Linked DNA regions of Homo sapiens: region 1 is linked to region 2. Evidence: promoter capture Hi-C in 16 types of primary human blood cells and fetal thymus (Javierre and others, 2016). All regions are on one chromosome and are shown on one strand. The core of a region is centred on a gene start or on the middle of the fragment in contact, and the rest is flanking DNA. Distances in the headings are between cores, read along the strand shown.

Region 1 (4,089 bases), core at 973-3,472, 230 kb after region 2:
AATAGTATTTCCTAGATTTCTTCTAGGGCATTTACAGTTTTAGGTTTTACATATATAAGTTTTTTTTAACTTTATATTGAGTAGATTTTTTATATGGTGAAAGGAAGGGTTCCAGTTTTAATTTTCTGTATATAACCAGCCAGTTATCCTGACACTGCTTGTTGAATAGGAAGTACTGTTTCCATTACTTGTTATTGTCAACTTTGTTGAAGATCCAATGGTTGTAGGTGTGCAGCTTTATTTCTGGGTTCTCTAACCTGTTCCATTGGTCTATGTATCTGTTTTGTTCTAGCACCATGCTACTTTGGTGACTGTAACTTTGTAGTATAGTTTGAATTTGGATAGTGTGATGCCTCCAGCTTTGTGGTTTCTGCATAGGATTATTTTGGTTATTTGGGATCTTTTTTGGGTTCCATATAAATTTTAGAATAGTTTTTCTAATTCTGTGAAAAATGACATTGGTAGTTTGATCAGAATAACATTGAATCTGTAAATTGCTCTGGAGAATATAGCCATTTTAACAATATTGATTCTTCCTATCCATGAGAATGAAATGTCTTTCCATTTGTTTGTATCATCTCTAATTTCTTTTAGCAGCATTTTGTAACTCTTGTTGTAGAAATCTTTTACCTCCCAGGTTAGCTGTATTCCTATGTGTTTATTCTTTGTGTGGCTATTGTGAAAGGAACTATGTTCTTGGTTTGGCTTTCAGCTTGGGTATTATTAGTTGTATAGAAATGCTACTAATTTTTGTACATTGATTTTGTATCCTGAGACTTTGCTGAAGTTGTTTATAATTTCTGGGAAATTTGGGGCAAAGGCTATGGGGTTTTCTGGGTATAGAATCATATTACCTGCAAAAGGAGGTAGTTTGACTTCCTTTCTTTCTATTTGGACGTCTTTTATTTTTTTTTCTCTTGCCTGACTGCTCTGGCTAGAACTTCCAGTGCTATGTTGAACCAGGAGTAGTGAGAGTAGGCAACTTTGTCTTGTTCTGGTTCTCAAGAGGTATGATTTCAGCTTTTGCCTATTTGTGATATGATGTTGGCTGTGGTTTTGTCATAGATGTCTCATTTTGAGGTATGTTCCTTTGATACCTAGTTTGTTGAGGGTTTTTAACATGAAAGAATGTTGAATTTATTGAAACCTTTTCTGCATCTATTTAGATAATCACGTGATTTTTGTTTTTAGTTCTGTTTATGTGATAAATCACATTTACCAATTTGCGTATGTTGAACCAACTTTGCATTCCAGGGGTAAAGCTTACTTGATCATGGTGGCTTAGCTTTTGCTGTGCTGCTGGATTTAGTTTGCTAGTATTTTTTTTTGAGGACTTTTGCATCAATATTTATCAGGCATATTGTCCTGAATTTGTTTTTCCTTTGTGTTTCTGTCAGGTTTTGGTATCAGAATAATGCTGACCTCATAGAATGATTCAGGGCAGAGTCTCCGCTCCTCAATATTTTGGAATAATTTTGGTAGGATTGGTATCAGCTCCTCCTTATCTATCAGGTAGAATTCAGATGTGAATCTGTCTGATCCATGGCTTTTGTTGGTTTGTAGGTATTTTATTATGGATTCAATTTCAGAACTTGTTATTGATCTGTTTAGGTATTCAATGTCTTCCTGGTTCAATCTTGGCAGGTTGTATGTTTTCAGGAATTTATCTGTTTCTTCTAGATTTTCTAGTTTTTCAGCATAGAAATTGTTCATAATGGTCTTTGAGAGTTTTTGTATTTCTGTGGGTTCCATGGTAATGTCCCCTTTGTCATTTCTAATTGTATTTATTTGGATCTTCTCCTGTTTTTTTTTTTTTTTTTGTATATTAATCTGGCTAGTGGTCTATATATCTTATTCTTTCAAAAAACCAATTTTTAGTTTTCTTAATTATTTTTGTGAATTTTCACATCTCAATTTTATTTGGTTCAACTTAGATTTTGATTATTATTTTTCTTCTGCTAGTTTGGGGGTTGGTTTCCTTTTGTTTTTTCTAGTTCCTGTAAATGTGATGTTAGGTATAAATTTAAGATATTTCTGACTTTTTGATGTAGGCCTTTAGTGCTATAAACTTTTCTCTTAACACTGCTTTAGCTGTGTCCCAGAGACTCTGATATATTGTATTTTTGTTTTCATTAGTTTCAAAGATTTCTTGATTTCTGCATTAATTTAATTTATTACCCAAAAGTCATTCAGGAGTAAGTTGTTTAATTTCCAAATACTTCTATGATTTTCAGAGATCTTCTTGGTATTGATTTGTATTTTTGTTGCACTGTGATCTGAGAGTGTGGTTGATATAATTTCTGTTTTTTGAATTTCCTGAGCATTGCTTTATGGCCAAGCATGTGGCCAAGCATGTGGCACAGAGTATGTGCCATGTGCAGATGAGAAGAATGTATATTCTGTTGTTGAGTGGAATGTTCCTTATATGTCTGTTAGGTCAATTTAGTCAAGTGTGAAATTTTGTTCCTGAATATCTTTGTTAGTTTTCTCCCTCAATGATTTATCTAACAATGTTAGTAGGGTGTTGTATTCTCCCACTATTATTGTGAGGTTAGCTAGTTCTCTTCATAGGTCTCTAAGAACTTGTTTTATGAATCTGGTTGTGCCAGTGCTGAATGCACACATCTTTAGGATAGTTAAGTCTTGTTTGTAGAATTGAACTTTTTATCATTATGTGATGCCCTTCTTCATCCTCTTTGATAGCTTTTGGTTTAAGGTCTGTTTTTTTTTTCCTGAAATAAAAGAGCAACCCCTGCTCTATTTTGTTTGTTTTCCATTTGCTTTATAGATATTCCTCCATCCATTTAATTTAAGCCTGTGTCTTTACATGTAAGGTGGGTCTCTTGAAGACAGCATGTAATTGAGTCTTGCTTCTTTATCCAACTTACCATTCTGTGCCTTTTAAGTGGAGTGGTTAGCCTGCTTATGTTCAAGGTTAATATTGATATGTAAGGATTTGATCCTGTCATAGTGTTATTAGCTGGTTGTTATGTAGACTTGATTGTATAGTTGCATATTGTGTCAGTGGAATATTTACTTAAGTGTGTTGTTTTGTGGCAGGTAGCAGCCTTTTGTTTCCATGTTCAGCACTCCCTGAAGGACCTCTTATAAGGCAGGCCTAATGGTAACAAATTCGCTTAGTGTTTGTTTGTCTGAAAAGGATTATGTTTCTTTTTCACTTACAAAGCTTGGTTCGGCTGGATATGAAATCATGGTTAGAATTTCTTTTGTTTAAGAATGCTGAATGTAGGCCTTTAATCTTTTCTGGCTTGAAAAATTTCTGCTGAAAGGTCCACTGTTAGTGTGATAAGGGTTCCCTTTGTACATGATCTGCCTCTTCTCTTTTGCTGCCTTTCATATGTTTTATTTACCTTGATCTTGGAGAATTGGATAACTATGTGTCTTAGGGATTGTCATCTTGTGTAATATCTTGCTGGGGTACTCTGAATTTCCTGAATTTACATGTCAACCTCTCTAGCAAGGTCAGGTAAATTTTCAGGGACAATATCTTCAAATATGTTCTCCAAGTTGCTTGGTCTCTCTCCCTCTCTTTCTGTGATGCAAATCAGTTGTAGGTTTGGTCTCTTTACATAAACTCATATTTCTTGAAGTTTCGTTCATATTTTATTATTTTTTCCTTTATTTTTATCTGACTGAGTTGATTTGAAGAACTGATCTTCAAGCTCTGAGATTTCTTTCCTCAGCTTTCCTCAGCTTCTGCTGTTAGTACTTCCAATTATATTATGAAATTTTTGTAGTGAGTTTTCAGCTCTAGTAGGTTAGTTTGGTTCTTTCTTAAAATGGCTATTTTATCTTTAAGCTTTTGTATTATTTTATTGGATTTCTTAGATTCCTTTGATTGGGTTTCTGCTTTCTCCTATATTTCAAGAATCTTCATTGCCATCTAGACTTTGCTGGGTAGGTAGCATGGTAGTTTGGAGGTAAGACACTCTGGTTTCTACAGTGCCAGAGTTCTTGCACTGGTTCTTTCCCATCTGTGTGGGCTAATATTTTGCTAGTCTTTGCAGTTGCTGTTCTTTGGATGGGGCTCTTTTATTTTATATTCTTTGATGTCCTTGAGTGTCTAGC
Region 2 (3,816 bases), core at 894-3,393:
ACACTGCTACCGTCAATACTGGCAATATATTCCTAAGTCAGGGAATATATACTTGAGACTAATCAGTAGAGATATAATTGAAAGGTAATGCTAGTGTTTAACTAGATTTGAATTCAGAGGATTAAGGTTCAGTTTCTTCCATGCCTTGTATTGCCTGTGTGTACTGGAGAAAGCTTTTGGCTTCTCTGAGCCTCCACATCTGCAAAATGCGAATCACTGTAGTCTTGCTTACCTTATACAAAGAGGTTTTTTTAATATGATGAAAAACAAATCACATAAATCTTAACCATGTTAACTATTTTTTTCAGCATACAAATAAGTTTCTTAAAGGATCAAATAAGACTTGCATTTAAAAACTTCTAAAAATATGATGATGTTGATTATATCAACAGAGGGAATAGAAATCATAGTGAAAATGAATAAAAGTGGAGAGGAAAGAGTGTTTACTGATTGAGTATTCCAGAGAATCATGATCCTGGATGAAGTTTATTCTGACTGCCACAGCTGTGCCCCAGTGCCCAGCTTTATACTCTATTCCTCTATGAGAGATAAGGTTTTATAGCCCCAGGACAACTTTTGAAACCTGACCCTGGGGAATGTCTAATTACTATGTAGCATTGTTCTTCTAATTTGTCCCTTAGAGGGGAGAGAAAGATACATAATTTTCCTTTAGACATTGCATCATCCAAAGAGAAACTCCCAGGAAAGACCATCTTTCCATTCTAGTTATTCCTGGAAGAGGCTTCAGAGACATTTGTACCCTTATTGACAGGCTAGGAGAAGAGGTGGCTGCAGAGATTTTGAGGAGCATTCTCATGGTGTCAGGCAGGGTAAGTACTAAAGACTGCATTGAAAGGGCATCATCCAACCTCCTTTTACTTCTACTTTGCCGCCCAATAGCTTCCTTACATCCTCAACTCTTCAGAACCCAACTGTTGCCCTGCTGTTTCACGGCAAACTGTCATATTTTAAGAACTTTGTTACATGAGTGAAATATTATACTAAGGGTAAATGAAATCGGGAAGGGATAACAGAAAGAATATGGTTCAGCTAACAGTTTGAAGATACTGATAATGTCTAAGGTCTTTTAAACATTAAATCTTGTTGAAACCCTAATAATTGTGGATTCTTGAAGAGTCACAGAGAAAGTTACTGCTTTTCTTCAAAGTCAAGTCTAATCTAATTCAAGTGTCTTTACGTCATACAAGAAATATTTTTAGATTGAACTCCTTGGACACTACTAAATATCTTTAACAGTAGGATTTTATTGATGGTTCTTTATGTATTTCAGGAACAAGAATAATATTTATTTACCTTTATATAGCCCTTGAACCTATGGCATCATCGACACATAGCAGAAGATCAATCGATATATGAGTGTTAGTTGAATAAATGTACCGATGATGAATAATGATGCAGCTTTACTACTGAGAAGGGCCCCGTGCGTACAGCAACAAAGTAGTCACTCTGTCTGGCTTTTATTAGCCACTTAGCACCTATTTTCTTGTATTTTGTTATAGCCCTGTGTTTCCTTCTCTGTCCTTCCATATTCTCTATAATGACTACTCAGCACGATTATTCAATTGCTTAGAAAAGAAAAACACAGGAAGGACAGAGAAGTGGATATTTTAGTCAGAAGAAAACTCCAATATCTTACACTTTTCCCCTTGGAAGCTCTGCCTTTCTGTGGCGCACTGTTGCTTGTTTCCTTCCAAAGCCTGCCTCTCCTATCTACCTTCCTCACAGTTTAAGGTGCAAGGCAGAGGCATCCTTTAAAAATTAATTTTCCTAGTCTGACAGGAGAATTTCTTGAACCCGGGAGGCGGAGGTTGTGGTGAGGCAAGATTGAGTCATTGCACTCCAGCCTGGGCAATAAGAGCAAGGCTCCATCTCAAAAAATAATAATAATAATTAATTTTCCTAGTCTGAAATGCATTTATTTGTATCTGCTTTTGACCTATTGAAGAAACCATGTCAGCTTTCTCACCTCACACCCGGGACAGACAGACGTTAAAAAATGACCAAACCTACAGAAAATATTTCCAGATAATGAAATTTGAGTATTGCTTTGCTTTTTGCACATCAGTTGAAGATGTTTACTAGAAAAAAAAAAGGTCATTCAGGGGTCCAACAGCAAGTATTTCAGATGATTTTGGCATGGAGGTAAAGCTTAAGAGATATTTCTAACTGGTTTCTTCAGGATTCCAGAATCAGCTTGAGTAACTCATTACAGAAAGGAATGAAGCAATATTCAGTGGGTAATCAACATTCCAATTATAGGAGTCTCTTGTTTCCTTTTCTGTGTTCACAGATGACACAGTTGACGGCCAGTGGGAATCAGACAATGGTGACTGAGTTCCTCTTCTCTATGTTCCCGCATGCGCACAGAGGTGGCCTCTTATTCTTTATTCCCTTGCTTCTCATCTACGGATTTATCCTAACTGGAAACCTAATAATGTTCATTGTCATCCAGGTGGGCATGGCCCTGCACACCCCTTTGTATTTCTTTATCAGTGTCCTCTCCTTCCTGGAGATCTGCTATACCACAACCACCATCCCCAAGATGCTGTCCTGCCTAATCAGTGAGCAGAAGAGCATTTCCGTGGCTGGCTGCCTCCTGCAGATGTACTTTTTCCACTCACTTGGTATCACAGAAAGCTGTGTCCTGACAGCAATGGCCATTGACAGGTACATAGCTATCTGCAATCCACTCCGTTACCCAACCATCATGATTCCCAAACTTTGTATCCAGCTGACAGTTGGATCCTGCTTTTGTGGCTTCCTCCTTGTGCTTCCTGAGATTGCATGGATTTCCACCTTGCCTTTCTGTGGCTCCAACCAGATCCACCAGATATTCTGTGATTTCACACCTGTGCTGAGCTTGGCCTGCACAGATACATTCCTAGTGGTCATTGTGGATGCCATCCATGCAGCGGAAATTGTAGCCTCCTTCCTGGTCATTGCTCTATCCTACATCCGGATTATTATAGTGATTCTGGGAATGCACTCAGCTGAAGGTCATCACAAGGCCTTTTCCACCTGTGCTGCTCACCTTGCTGTGTTCTTGCTATTTTTTGGCAGTGTGGCTGTCATGTATTTGAGATTCTCAGCCACCTACTCAGTGTTTTGGGACACAGCAATTGCTGTCACTTTTGTTATCCTTGCTCCCTTTTTCAACCCCATCATCTATAGCCTGAAAAACAAGGACATGAAAGAGGCTATTGGAAGGCTTTTCCACTATCAGAAGAGGGCTGGTTGGGCTGGGAAATAGATACAGATCCTGGAGACTCTAAAAAGCCTCTTGGAAGAGCAAAATTTCACTGTTATTTATCTTTTCCATGTCTATCCTCTTTCTGTATTGCTGCAACTACTTGTTCTATTATTTTTAAAAAGAATGATAAACTGCTGTATACAGGCTGTGGATGGTAAGTGGATGGCCAGTTTACATCAATGCCTCTACCATGCTTGTTATAGCTGAAGCAGTATAGATCAACTCTCTTGCTTTTAACACAGGTTGGCTTCCTCCTCGCACTCCAGCAGCTAGGCCCCTGCTAGTCTCTTCAGTGCTCTGACATGCTAGTGGGGCCGGGAAGCAGAATAGAAGAGGCATGACAGACAAGAAAGTTCTGAGAATTGCTACTGCTAACTTCCCCAATTCCCTTTCTGGAAATGCATCCCCTGTCATTTGGCATTCCATATAAATAAATCGTTTCCTGATACTAGAGAGAGGTCTTCTCTACTTTTAGCTCATTTAATTCCCAAACTCATTTCAGCAAACGTGAACTGATTTTGTACATGATGTGTTACAGAATTTTA

What was found. The method cuts DNA at HindIII sites, captures the fragments that hold promoters and counts their contacts. A CHiCAGO score of 5 or more calls a contact.
Region 1: a fragment that was not itself captured here is called in contact with the fragment with the promoter of OR6K6 in region 2 in 2 of 17 cell types (neutrophils and M2 macrophages); the score reaches 7.4 in neutrophils.

What each region holds. Positions count from the first base shown.
Region 1 is chr1:158,982,226-158,986,314 of GRCh38, forward strand. It overlaps a transcript of PYHIN1 not described here. Among named protein-coding and RNA genes, the nearest start is that of PYDC5, 18 kb to the right of the region's middle. The HindIII fragment of the contact is 1,925 bases long and covers 1,261-3,185 here.
Region 2 is chr1:158,752,577-158,756,392 of GRCh38, forward strand. It overlaps OR6K6 (olfactory receptor family 6 subfamily K member 6), which reads left to right and starts at 2,144. Exons shown (of 1, transcript NM_001005184.2): 1 at 2,144-3,315. The coding sequence starts at 2,312. The coding sequence ends at 3,271. The HindIII fragment of the contact is 1,996 bases long and covers 172-2,167 here.